4 separate regions of the Homo sapiens genome follow, and regions 1, 2 and 4 are each linked to region 3. The links are contacts of gene promoters, found by promoter capture Hi-C in blood cells and fetal thymus (Javierre and others, 2016). All regions are on one chromosome and are shown on one strand. Each heading gives the region's core, a stretch centred on a gene start or on the middle of the fragment in contact. The rest is flanking DNA. Distances are from core to core; before and after follow the strand shown.

The links. Contacts are between HindIII fragments. The CHiCAGO score rates a contact against its expected background, and 5 or more counts as called.
Region 1: a fragment that was not itself captured here is called in contact with the fragment with the promoter of DOCK3 in region 3 in 4 of 17 cell types (naive CD8 T cells, total B cells, naive CD4 T cells and 1 more); the score reaches 7.0 in naive CD8 T cells.
Region 2: a fragment that was not itself captured here is called in contact with the fragment with the promoter of DOCK3 in region 3 in 3 of 17 cell types (megakaryocytes, naive CD4 T cells and naive CD8 T cells); the score reaches 6.2 in megakaryocytes.
Region 4: a fragment that was not itself captured here is called in contact with the fragment with the promoter of DOCK3 in region 3 in 1 of 17 cell types (monocytes); the score reaches 6.5 in monocytes.

The regions. Positions count from the first base shown.
Region 1 is chr3:51,315,622-51,318,697 of GRCh38, forward strand. The region is part of intron 32 of DOCK3 (dedicator of cytokinesis 3); the gene reads left to right. Among named protein-coding and RNA genes, the nearest start is that of MANF, 68 kb to the right of the region's middle. The HindIII fragment of the contact is 528 bases long and covers 1,157-1,684 here.
Region 2 is chr3:51,353,158-51,356,401 of GRCh38, forward strand. It overlaps DOCK3 (dedicator of cytokinesis 3), which reads left to right. Exons shown (of 53, transcript NM_004947.5): 41 at 1,725-1,866; 42 at 2,932-3,098. Among named protein-coding and RNA genes, the nearest start is that of MANF, 31 kb to the right of the region's middle. The HindIII fragment of the contact is 963 bases long and covers 1,498-2,460 here.
Region 3 is chr3:50,673,178-50,676,251 of GRCh38, forward strand. It overlaps DOCK3 (dedicator of cytokinesis 3), which reads left to right and starts at 1,750. Exons shown (of 53, transcript NM_004947.5): 1 at 1,750-2,123. The coding sequence starts at 2,087. It overlaps MIR4787 (microRNA 4787), which reads left to right and starts at 1,903; the gene lies at 1,903-1,986. RefSeq lists a silencer at 1,714-2,003. The HindIII fragment of the contact is 16,225 bases long and covers 1-3,074 here.
Region 4 is chr3:51,258,663-51,261,480 of GRCh38, forward strand. It overlaps DOCK3 (dedicator of cytokinesis 3), which reads left to right. Exons shown (of 53, transcript NM_004947.5): 23 at 1,494-1,664. Among named protein-coding and RNA genes, the nearest start is that of MANF, 130 kb to the right of the region's middle. The HindIII fragment of the contact is 820 bases long and covers 863-1,682 here.

The sequences.
Region 1 (3,076 bases), core at 171-2,670, 640 kb after region 3:
TTTTGCCACCACTAAGTGTAGGAGATGGCCCCTGCCTTTATATCTGTAGCTCCAGGGGATAGTACCAGGACCAATAGGGGCTAATGATGAGGAAGCCAATTTTAGCTAATCAAATAAATAACTTGCTAACAGCAAAAACTGTCCACTGTAAGCAGGCCTGCTTTGGGAGATAGAGATTTTCTCTCTTGGCAGATGATCTTCAAGCAGAAGCTCCCAGGAAACCTCTAGGGGAATTTTCTGTATTGGCTTGGGAATTGTACCAGTTCCCCACTAAGCTCCTTCCGAGCCTGTGATTCTGGGATGAACCAGTGGTCTATTTAGAATAGGTGACTGTAACAGTGAGAAGTAGACCAGGCAAACAGTAATTTTTAAATATTTATTTATTTTTAAATTTACATAGAGTAAAATGTATTCTTCTTGATTTACAGTTCTATGTGTTTTGGCAAATGCATAGTCGTGTAACCACTACCACAATCAAGAGTTTTTGAATACTTAAAAATTCAGTCTTGCTGTCTATTTGTAGTCAAACCCTTCCCCTGTTCTTAACAAATGCAACCATAGGTCTGCTCTTCATCACTATAGTTGTGCCTTTTCTAGACTGTCATATAAATGGAATCAAGCAAAGTGCAGCCTTTTGAGACTGGCCCCTTTCACTTAGCATAATGCTTTGAGAAATTAATCCATGTCACTGCATGTATCAGTAGCTTTTCTATGCTGAGTAGTATTTAGTTCATTCATTCACCATTTGAAAGACATTTGGGTTATTTCCTCTTTTGTGGATTATAAATAAAGCTACTAAAAACATTTCTTTACAGGTTTTTGTATGCATATAAGCTTTCATTTTTCTTGAGTGAATACTTAGGAATAGGATTGTTGGGCCTTGTGACAAGTGTGTAATTAGCTTTCGAAGAGGTTCTCAAACTCTTTTCTAAAATAGCTATACCATTTTGAAGTCTCAGCAGCAGTATATAATCGATTGCTCCGCATACTAACCAGTACTTAGTATTATCTGTTCGTTTGTTTTAGCCATTCTAATAGGTGTGTAGTTGTATATCATTGTGGTTTTCATTTCTATTTCCCTAGTGACTAATGGTGTTGAGCATCTTTTCATATGCTTATATACCATCTTTATGCTTCTTTGGTAAAATGAGTTCAAAGCTTTTGTTCATTTTCATTTGAGTTGCTGCTTTCCTTATTGTTGAATTGTAGGGTTCTTTATATATTCTGTATGTAAGTCCTTTGTTGAGCATATGATTTACAGATATTTTCTGCAAATCTTTAGCTTATCTTTTCATTTACTAAACAATATCTTTCTTAGAACAAAAGTTTTTAATTTTTATGAAGTCCAGTTTGTCAATGTTTTTCTTTTATAGATCATGCTTTTGGGGTCATACCCCAAGAACTTTTTCTTAACATAGGGCCACAAAAATTTTTCTCCTGTCTTTTCTTCTAGAAGTTTTATAGTTTTACATTTTAAATTTAGATCTATGATCTATTTTGAGTTGATTTCTGTATAAGGTATGAAGGATGGATCAGGTTCTTTTTTTTATTTTGCAACAAGATGTCCAATTATTCCAGCATCTTTTGTTGAAAAGAGTATCCTTTCTTCAGTTGTCTTTCTGCCTTGGTCAAAAACCAATTGCCAAAAAAAAAAAAGAAAAACAAATGGGTTTGGACAAGGAGAAGCTTAAAAAAAAGAAAAAGAAAAAAGACCTTTGAAACTTTGTATTCAAAGTTAGGAGGAGTAAGCTTTAGTGAGCTATTGCACCACGTGGTAACTATAGTTAATAATAATGTATTGTACAAAAATTAGCCAGGCGTGGTGCCACGTGCCTGTAGTCCCAGATACTCAGGAGGCTGAGGCAGGGGAATCACTTGAACCCGGGAGGTGGAAGTTGCAGTGAGCCAAGATCGCACCACTGCACTCCAGCCTAGGCAACAGAGCGAGACTCCATCACAAAATAATAATAATAATAATAATAATAATAATAATAATAATAATGTATATTTAAAAATTGCTAAAAGAGTAGACTTTAAATGTTCTCATTGCAAAAAAAAATTAGGTGAGGTGACAGATATGTTAATTAGCTTGATTTAATCATTTCACAATGTATACATATATCAAAACATCATATTGTACTCTATAAATAGATATAATTATTGTCACTTAAAACTACTTAAAAAATCAATTGACCATATTTGTGTGAATCTCTTTCTAGACTCTAGTCCTTCCGTAGATCAGTATGTTTATTCTTTCATCAATACCACGCTATCTTATTATAGTAGCTTTATAGTTAGTCTTAAAACCACATGGTGTGAGTCTGTCTTCCAGTTTTGTCCTTTTTTTTTCAGTATTGTGTTAGCTATCTAATTCTTTTTCCTTTTTTAAATAAATTTAGAATCAGCATGTCGATATCTATAACATTCCTGCTGAGATTTTGACTGGGATTGCAGTGATTCTATAAATCAAATTGGGGGCCGGGCACAGTGGCTATGCCTGTAATCCCAGCACTTTGGGAGGCCAAGGCAGGTGGAACATTTGAGATCAGGAATTTGAGAGCAGCCTGGCCAACACAGTGAAACCCCATCTCTACTAAAAACATAAAAATTAACCGGGCGTGGTGGCAGGTGCCTGTAATCCCAGCTACTTAGGAGGCTGAGGCAGGAGAATTGCTTGAACCCAGGAAAGGGAGATTGCAGTGATCTGAGATCGCACCACTGCTCACCAGTCTGGGCAACAGAGCAAGACTCTGTCTCAAAAAAATTATATATATATCAAATTGGGAAGAATTATGTCTTAATAGTCAATGAAAACAGTATATCTTTCCATTTATTTAGGTGTTCTTTTATTTCTTTCATCAGTGTTTTGTATACAGATCTTACACATATATTATTAGATTTATATGTATTTCCTGTTTTTTGGTGCTCTTCTAAATAATTCCATGCAACTGAATGATGTTGATTCCTTGAAAAAATTTTAGACTCCCTTTATTGTCAAGTATGCAGCATTTCAAAAAATTGTTCTACATGAACTTGAAAACAATGGGTATTCTGTGGGTGAGGGAGTAAAACTTAC
Region 2 (3,244 bases), core at 729-3,228, 680 kb after region 3:
TTTCTTTGTCAGTTTTATTTATCAAGCAAAAGATGTAGAAATATCTCTGTCCTTTGACTACTGGTCTGTTCCACTGGAGAGGCCAGCCTGCTCCTCCTGACCTTAACTTTCTTCCTAGCGTTAATCAGAATCAGAATCCCTTCCATTCTGATTCATCCAGACACATGGCCCAGTCTGGGTGCAGTGGCTCATGCCTGTAATCCGAGCACTTGGGAAGGCTGAGGCGGGTGGATCACCTGAGGTCAGGAGCTCGAGACCAGCCTGGCCAACATGGTGAAACCCCATCTTTGCTAAAAATACAAAAATTAGCCAGGCATGGTGCCAGATACCTGTAATCCCAGTTACTTGAGAGGCTGAAGTGGGAGAATCACTTGAACCCGGGAGGCATAGATTGCAGTGAGCCCAGATTGCACCACTGCACTCCAGCCTGGGCAAGAGAGTGAGACTCTTATCTCAAAAAAACAAAAAAACAATACAGACACATGGCCCAGCCTTAGCCAAGTTCTCCCATAGTGAGAGAGGAAGTAAAAATGAGACAGAAATCCTATTTCAAGAAGATCAGGGTCTTACAAGGCCTGCCCTGTGATTAACCCTGTCCCAGGAAGCATATGGCTGGCCCTGTGACGCCTCTCTCTCTCTTTCTTCCTTTGAAGACATGCCAAGAGGGGCTGGCAGTGCCTGATACCATTTTGTTGAAATGGGTCTGGCTAGGCAGTTGGATGGGCAGACTGCATCACCAGTGGGTTTCAGGGGAACTTCCTCCAGCCACCCACTCATGACCAGCTATGACATAGGCAGAGCAAGCAGAGTTGGGGGTGCCTTGTCCACAAAGAGAAAAACTGAGACATAACCAAAAGTAAATGTGACATAACATAAAGTTTTAAGAAGTCTGTACTTAGCATGATGTTTATTTGTTCTGCTGACATGTTTGCAAAGAAATTTGCTGCCAAAGGGTTACTAATGCAATAAACAGTTACTGAATACCTACTGGGCACTGGGCAACATTAGACTGTTTCTCCCAACTAATAAAAGTGATCCTTCAGAATCACACACTTGATCACCACCCCCCCCCCATTTAAAATTATTTGGTGGCACCCATAGCAATCACTCCTTGGTAACATTGGAGTCAGGGTCAGGGTATTCCAAGGCCTGCCCAGTGATTAACCCTGTCCCGGGAAGCATATGGCTGGCCCTGTGATGCCTCTCTCTTTCTTCCTTTGAAGACATGTCAAGAGGGGCTGGCAGTGCCCCCTCTGCCCAACTGCTTCTACCAGTTCTCTACACAGACACCTTCTTTCCAGCTCCACCTTTTCCTGTCTTGATTGTTGTTGCCCTGGTTGTCACGGTACCCACATAGATTGCCCTTCTCCACTCACACCATACCATACCAGCCTGACCTAGGTGGACCTTTCAGGACGTTTTTTTAACATAGCTTTTTCTAAAATCCCATCTCCCACCTTGCTCTCTTTCCTGCGTAAGGTTTTTCTTCTTCTTCCAAGCTTCTTGCAGCCTGTACCCTTCCCTTGGGGCTGCCACACCACAGTGTAATTCTCGCTTTGTTTTTCTTCTGCCTCCTTGAGTGCAATGCCCTGTGCCTGTCCCAGGGCCTGATACAGAGAAGGCTCCTAAGATATGTTTGTGCTATATGTAGCTACTGACTCCAGGGTGGAGGTGGGGGGCTACAAGCAAAGCATACATAGAGTGTGCTCTTCTGTTTGTGGCAGAACAAAGAATACGTGTGCCGTGGCCATGACTACGAGAGGCTGGAGGCCTTCCAGCAGAGGATGCTCAGTGAGTTTCCGCAGGCTGTCGCCATGCAGCACCCCAACCATCCTGATGACGCCATCCTACAGTGCGATGCCCAGTGTATCCTTTGATACTGGGTGGGAGGAGGAGGGCAGGGGCCCTGGGAGGTGAGATCCACCCAGTCAGCTGCCCCTTTACCACATTGCCAACCATACAGGTTTAGATATCCCATAGTCCTAAACCTGAGTGTGTCCTCATTGCTTAGCACACACTTAGCAAGGCACTAATACCTCAAAGAGGAAGCAGTGGCACGCCCTTAGCAGTGGGTGGTCTAGTTATCAGTGGGGCTTCAGGAAGGCCTTTATCCCTCAGGCTGGCTGCTTCCAACAGCTTAATCCTCACCCTGCCCTATGAGGAGTCTGCCCAGGCAGCCAGGAGCAATCACTGTACAGGGTGACTTGGGGTCCTATCAGGGCTCTTGTCACAGGGATACCACCTGTGCTGTGCCCTGCTCCACTCCCATGTGTACTATTGTTGTCCCTTCTCTTCATCAGGCGGACTGGGGCAGGGCCCAAGGATGTGTGGAGCAGGAGAAGATGAGGAGTTCCTTTGGTTTGGTGGCACTTGGAAGTCTGAATGGAAACACTGCCCTTCCCCTCACCTTTCACACACAGCTTCCTTGGGGACCACATGACAGTTGCCATGACTATGGCAAGCTTGTTTCAGAGAAGGGAGGGCAAGTGGACTCTTATCTGCTTTTTTTCCACAAAAATTTCAAACAGTATTTTATTTAAAAGTTGTTCTTCAGTAAATATGCTTTACCTATAGAGGGGAAGCCCAGACCCTTGCAGCCTTCTTTCACTCCCATGGGGTGGATGCCTGCATTCCCCTCTTTCCCTTTGTTTCTTAAAGGGGCACCAGAGAACACTTGGCTGTTGACATCTCACCTTGGCTGAGTGCTCATGAAACTCAACTACTAGAGCAGGGAGAGGGAGAGAGCAGATAGAGATTTACCTAACTGAGCTTGGGTCTGATCTGCCCCTAGAGATGCCACTGCCTCCCCTACTGGGCTGTCAGTAAGGAGCAGGGACTATGGTGCACTTCTCCCCTTTGAGGAGATGACAGGGGTCAGCCTCTCAGGCCCAGCTCTGGCAAGTCTGTGTTTCTCCTTCACTTCCTGCCCAGACTTGCAGATCTATGCAGTGACGCCCATTCCAGATTATGTGGATGTTCTGCAGATGGATAGGGTACCAGATCGAGTCAAGAGCTTCTATCGCGTCAACAATGTGAGGAAGTTCCGGTATGACAGGCCTTTTCACAAAGGCCCCAAGGACAAGGAGAATGAATTCAAGGTGAACAAATCTAGGAAAACGGGCAGTACACACAGCAAGTCCAGGGGCAAGCTCAACTTCCTTGGGAACTCACCACTGTTTTATCCCTCAGGTAGGCAGGGTGTGGCAAAACTTGCCTAACTGCCCATACCTGCCTGTTCCCTCCC
Region 3 (3,074 bases), core at 500-2,999:
AATGCCCTTCCACCCTGGAGCTGAGGTGTGCAATCATGGAGAATTTTCTTCATCTGGGAAAGCCATAATCTAAGATGGATTCAGACTGGGAACAAGAGTATAAACTTTGGAAAAACTGGCCCTTAGGCTCTGTGACTGTCATCACATACAGCAGACAAGGGAGTGAACTTAGAGGATGAAATAAGAGCTTTAAGGTTGTTCCCTGAAGGCCTGCGTAGCTCAGCCCCACTTGTTGAATAGCTACCTGGAGAGTTTTGTAAGAATGTGGCTTCATTCCATAGAATACTTCCATGGTGGCCACCGGGGAGGGGTCTATCTTCTTGGAACAGTTAGCTCTTTCGTTATGTTCTTGGACACCCCTGCTACCCCTAAAAAGAAGTGTACCTGGCTATTGAGAAATTCTATCATTCACAGAACAGACATTTTTCTGGGCGGGAGTGGGCAGCTATGATTAGTGAGAGGAGGAGCCTAAAGGTCCGAAGGTGGGAAGGGGTGGCCATAACCCAGGGGAGCACAGTCAGGCCTGGGAGGAGTTACCAATCATGACACTTTGAACGAAGAATCAACAAGATCTGTTGATTGCAAGATATTCTTCTATTAGTCTGGCTTCCCATGCAACAACTATACAACAGGTGCTGGGTTGGTGGTGAGGGTTTAGAAAGTTGATTTTAGCCTGGAGCTTGCCTTCTGGGAGCTGACAGTCTTATAAGGGAAATAAGACAAACCGAACATAGCTCCAATTCCAGACAAAGAAGGAAAGGAGACTATGGGTCAGGGCAGGCTTCCTGGAGGTGAGGGGCTGAGCTGGGCTTTGAAGAGTGGTGGTGTCTGAGAGTGCTAGTGAAGGATGACACCAGGGTTTTGACTTAGTAGTGCTAGTGACAGAGATGGGCAAATCTGCTGGGATTAGAGCATGTGGTCCAAATGTAGGTGGAAAGGAGAAGTCCTGCAGTTCCTGTTCTTTGGTAAGTGGTTGACTTGGGGGTCACAAGGTGACATTTACAGGCATCAGAATGAATGGATTCTTAGGGAGGAGAGAGAGGAGGAAAGTTTCCGGTAGGAGCCAGTTCTTAGGGCTCCAAGGGAGGCAGACACCCAGGAGCAGCAGATGCCGTGTCCTGGGTAGGAACACGAAGGGCCCAATGAAGCTCTTCCTTACTAGCAAGGCGGCTGTTGATTGTTCTGGCCCCAAACATTCACCACTCAGGCCATCTCAGAGAAGCAAGAACCCAGGAGGTGTCAGCGGCCTCAGCCCACAGGGGATCCAGGAGAGAGGGGCACGAGTGCACCCCACCTGGTTCCCTCGTGGCGACTCCATCCTGCGGGCCCTGGGAATGCACAGGGTGGCTCCGGGGACCTTTCCGACAGCACTGTGGGTGACACTGGGATGGGTCTGAAAATGGTGTCGTGTCCTCCTTTTCTGGATCTCCCCTCTCCGACCAGGAGGCCTGTGGCCATCTCGGGGCGCAGGCAGGAGGCACTGGAAGCGGAAGCGAGTGGGGAGTCCGGGTAGAGGGAGTCGCCCACCTGACCGGCTTCGCCCCCTCCGGGGTTTGCTGCAGCTGAGGGCCCCGGACCAGCGATTCTAGAAGCCGGTCCGGGGCCGGGCAGTCCAATAGCTTCTCGCGGATTTCCCTCCGCTGGCGCGCAGCAGCGGCGCGTGGATTCGCGCGCGGGCTCGGGACGGCGCGAGCCCGGGCAGCGCGAGCCCCTGCGCGGCAGGGAGTGGCGCATGCGCGGGCGTCCTGCGAGCCCGCTGGGGCGAGCCGAGCCGCGGCGGCGCCGGGAGCCGGGCGGCGGAGCTGTGAAGAAGCAAGCGGCGGCACGGGAGCAGCGGCGACGGACAGGTGGCGAGCCTTCGCCCGCGCCGCCAGGGGCTGCTGGGCCACCCGCGGAGCCTCGCGGTCCAGACGTGGCGGGGGTGGCGGCGGCATCCCGGACGGCCTGTGAGGGATGCGCCGCCCACTGCCCCGCGCCGCCTGACCGTCCCCGCCTCGACTCGCGGTGCGCCACAGCCGGGCCCGCGGCCGTCCCCGCCGCGTTGTCGCCCGGTCGCCGCGCCCGCGGGGCCGCGCCCGGCACGGCCATGTGGACCCCCACGGAGGAGGAGAAATACGGCGTAGGTAGGTGAGGCTCAGGCCTGGCCGTGGCGGGGGTTCTGGGGGACGCGCCCAGCTCCCGGCCCCGCCTGGATTCGCATCCTCGTGCCCCCGCCACTGCCCGCAGGCTGCGCGGCCTCGGCGCGGGGCGAGCGCGGGGTGGGGGCAGGTGCGGGTGCGGGTGCGGGTGCGGGGGTGGGCGCGGGTCTCTGTGCAGAGAGGGCGGCAGGGGGCGCTGGCGGTGCGGCCTTGGCAGGTGCGGCCCGCGGGAGGGGTGGGCAAGGCCCGGGCAGTTGCCCGAGGTTTCTGGTGTGGGCCACGGGGCAATTTTACCCGATAAACCAAATTCTGGGAATATGTTTTCTCCCCTCCAAAAGCTCGATTTTAATGAGTTTCCGCACCTGAATTGATGAGCCCGATGGCTGTTTATTTTTGATCTGGAACCTTACAAGAAAACGGATGAAAAACGTTGACATCATTTTCCCAGTTCAAAAATTTGGACATTTGACTGCAAATGTTTGATCTGTTTTAATTTGTTTTGCCTTTAGTATTAGAAATAATACCTTACGATGGGAAATGTTTTTGGACATGTATCAATGTTTATACGGTTTTTTTTTTAAACCCTGTTTTCAGATGAGACCTTATTCCTCTTAGAAACCTTTTTTTAATGTTGTAAGTGTTAAACTCCAGAAGCTAAATAATTCTTACAATATTCAACTTCTTTAAAAAGAATATTCAGTAATTTAAAGTATTGAATGTTTTACAATGTTAGTGTTTTGTGGCAATTACATGATAGAGTTAAGCCTCATTGCATCACCTATCATCTTGTTCAGTTAGAAACAGATTTAAAATGTTGAGTGTACAGGTTTTGTTTTTCCTAAGCTCGTAATGGAAAATTTTAGATAGGAAACCTGTCTAAACATAGATTTTTGTTTCCCATCTTTACCGCAATTTAATCAAGATTTAGTTCACAAT
Region 4 (2,818 bases), core at 23-2,522, 590 kb after region 3:
GTTCTGTTCTATCCTTTACCTATAGGGATTCTAGTCCCTACCTATAAGGATTCCAGGGTGTCAGTTCTGACCTTGTCCCTCTTTTGTCCTCTGCTGAGCCCAGCAAGCCATCATCTTAATCATACAAAACCAAAATACCTAAAGGGGAAGGTCAGACCTGCTACCTAGCCATTTAGTTTGGAAAATGCAAACATTTATTTTCTTTGTTCCGATAGAAAATACCTCCTACTTCAGTGACTTCAAACTGGCATAAGCTAATAAATGAAGCTAGCTCAGAAGTGTATACTTTCTGCTTCATGGGCCTGAAGAGTCACCACAATATAGACATACTAGAGCAGTGGCAGAGTCCAGCCTGCAAGTGTCTGGGTTTAGAAACTAACAGATATTTCAAGTTCTTTATAGACTAGGCATTAAAAAGCTACTAGAACAGAGGGTGTAGCATTTATGGAGATGAGGCCGCACACTAAATCCTTCTACAGAATCATCTGGTACAAGCCCTGTAAGACACATTTTTCTAAACTGGCATTCCCCAGTGCCAACTGAATTTTGTATGGGCCACAAAATATTAAGTTCTGCTTTTCCAAACCATCTAACAGCTGGATAGATCATGAAAGGTAGTTTGGGAATTGTTTCCTGTTTTATATTTCAAGTACCTGACTTCTGTTTGTTTCAGCCTTGCATAAGTTTCTCTCCATTATTTCTGGCTTTTCAGTGTCTGGGAAATCTGTGGCATTTTTTTTTTATTAGAAAACATAGTATTGGGTCTTGAATTTGTTCTCTTAAAAGAAAATTACTCTGTAAGCATGGGCCAAGCGTCAGGAACTCCTCAGAATCAGATTCTGCTCCCAAACATTTTTGCAGAAGCTTCATCTTGTACCATTTATGAACTGCTTATAGCAGATGTCTTGGTGGGAAGAGGGTGGATACTGGATGTATCAGGCCTATCAGCTGCTGTGCAGCCTGGGACAGGTTTTCTTCAGATTTCTGTGACCCCTGGTGAAAAAGGAGGAACTGTGTCAGGCCCCAGCTATATCTTAAAGATGTAGGAGACTCCTAAGTCTGAGGATTCCTCAGTCCTTTAGGACACTTCCTTCTTGCAGTAAACTTGAGTCTTTCTTACATCCTTGCCTTGTGACCCTTTTATTTCCAGACCTGAAAAAAAATACAGAGAAACTTATTTTTTAAACTCTGAGTGGTCTTGAATTCAACTATTTCTATAACAGTCTATGGCTCCTTAATTCCAGAACCTCAGAAAACAGTTGTGAAATTATTTGATGATTCTTTCAGTAAGAAGGTAGCTGCTGCTTAGTGACAATTTGGATATTTGAGAAAAAATTTTTAAAAATAAAGTACCTATCTATCTCCATAGTTAGAATTGCCCAACACCTGATTTTGGTATAGAAACTGCTGTTACTTTGCCCCTTGTTTCCTGCTATGTGAGTTCCTGAGCATCTTCAACATCTCTCCATCACTTTTTCTCCCACACTTTTCAGGCCTTGGAGTACCTTTTCAAGTTCATTGTACAGTCACGGATCCTGTACTCACGAGCCACTTGTGGAATGGAAGAGGAACAATTCAGATCCAGTATCCAAGAACTTTTCCAGTCCATCCGGTTTGTGCTCAGTCTGGACAGCCGAAACTCAGAAACACTCCTTTTTACTCAGGTTCGCACACTGCAGGGAAGCTTTGATGCTGGGTTCCTCTTTCTCAGTGGGTGGTTTCTTTGTCCTCTGGTTTTCAGAGATGAAGAAGCCCTGCCAGGATCATGTGTGTTGGGTAAGGGATTATTTACAAGGAAATACCTGATACAACAAAATGCTGCTTTTACTGCAAATCTGGCTGTGCCTCAGCTGCCAGATGTAAAACAGCTCAGTGGCTTTATGTTGGAGAAGAAGCACAAATTTGTTCTGTGAACAGTCTTTAGACCAAGTTTATTTAGCTACCATACTACTTAGTTTTTTATGAACACCTTATTCATAGGAGATATTGAGAATGTATGGGGAATTTTATTTCCAGATTAATCATTGTATTAATGAAAATTGAGCACAGTGGCTCACACCTGTAATCCTAGCACTTTGGGAGGCCAAGGTGGGCGGATTGCTTGAGCTCAGGAGTTCAAGACCAGCCTGGGCAACATGATGAAACCCCATCTCTACTAAAAATACAAAAAAATTAGCTGGGTGTGCTAGCATGCACCTGTAGTCCCAGCTACTCAGGAGGCTGAGGCAGGAGAATTGCTTGAACCCGGGAGGCAGAGGTTGCAGTGAGCCAAGATCGCACCACTGCACTCCAGCCTGGGCAACAGACTGAGACTCTGTCTCCAAAAAGAAAAAGAAAAAAAAAGAAAATTTAGATTAGCTTTTATCCATTCCAGAAGTTGAATGAAATAATTTGAAAAACAGTAGGAGTAACTAGGAATCTTTGGCTAAGAATTAAGATTAAATTAGGATCAGAGGGCTGGCAAGATGGCCAAATAGGAACAGCTCCGGACTGCAGCTCCCAGCGAGATCAACACAAAAGGCAGGTGATTTCTGCATTTCCAACTGAGGTACCCGGCTCATCTCATTGGGACTGGCTAGACAGTGGGTGCACCCATGGAGGGCAAGCAGAAGGAGGGTGGGGCGTCGCCTCACCTTGGAAGTACAAGGGGTTGGGGAACTCCCTCCCCTACCCAAGGGAAGCTGGGAGAGACTGCCTTGAGGAACAGTGCATTCCGGCCCAGATACTACGCTTTTCCCATGGTCTTTGCAACCTGCAGACCAGGAGATTCCCTCAGGTGCCTACACCACCAGGGCCCTGGGTTTCAAACAGAAAACTG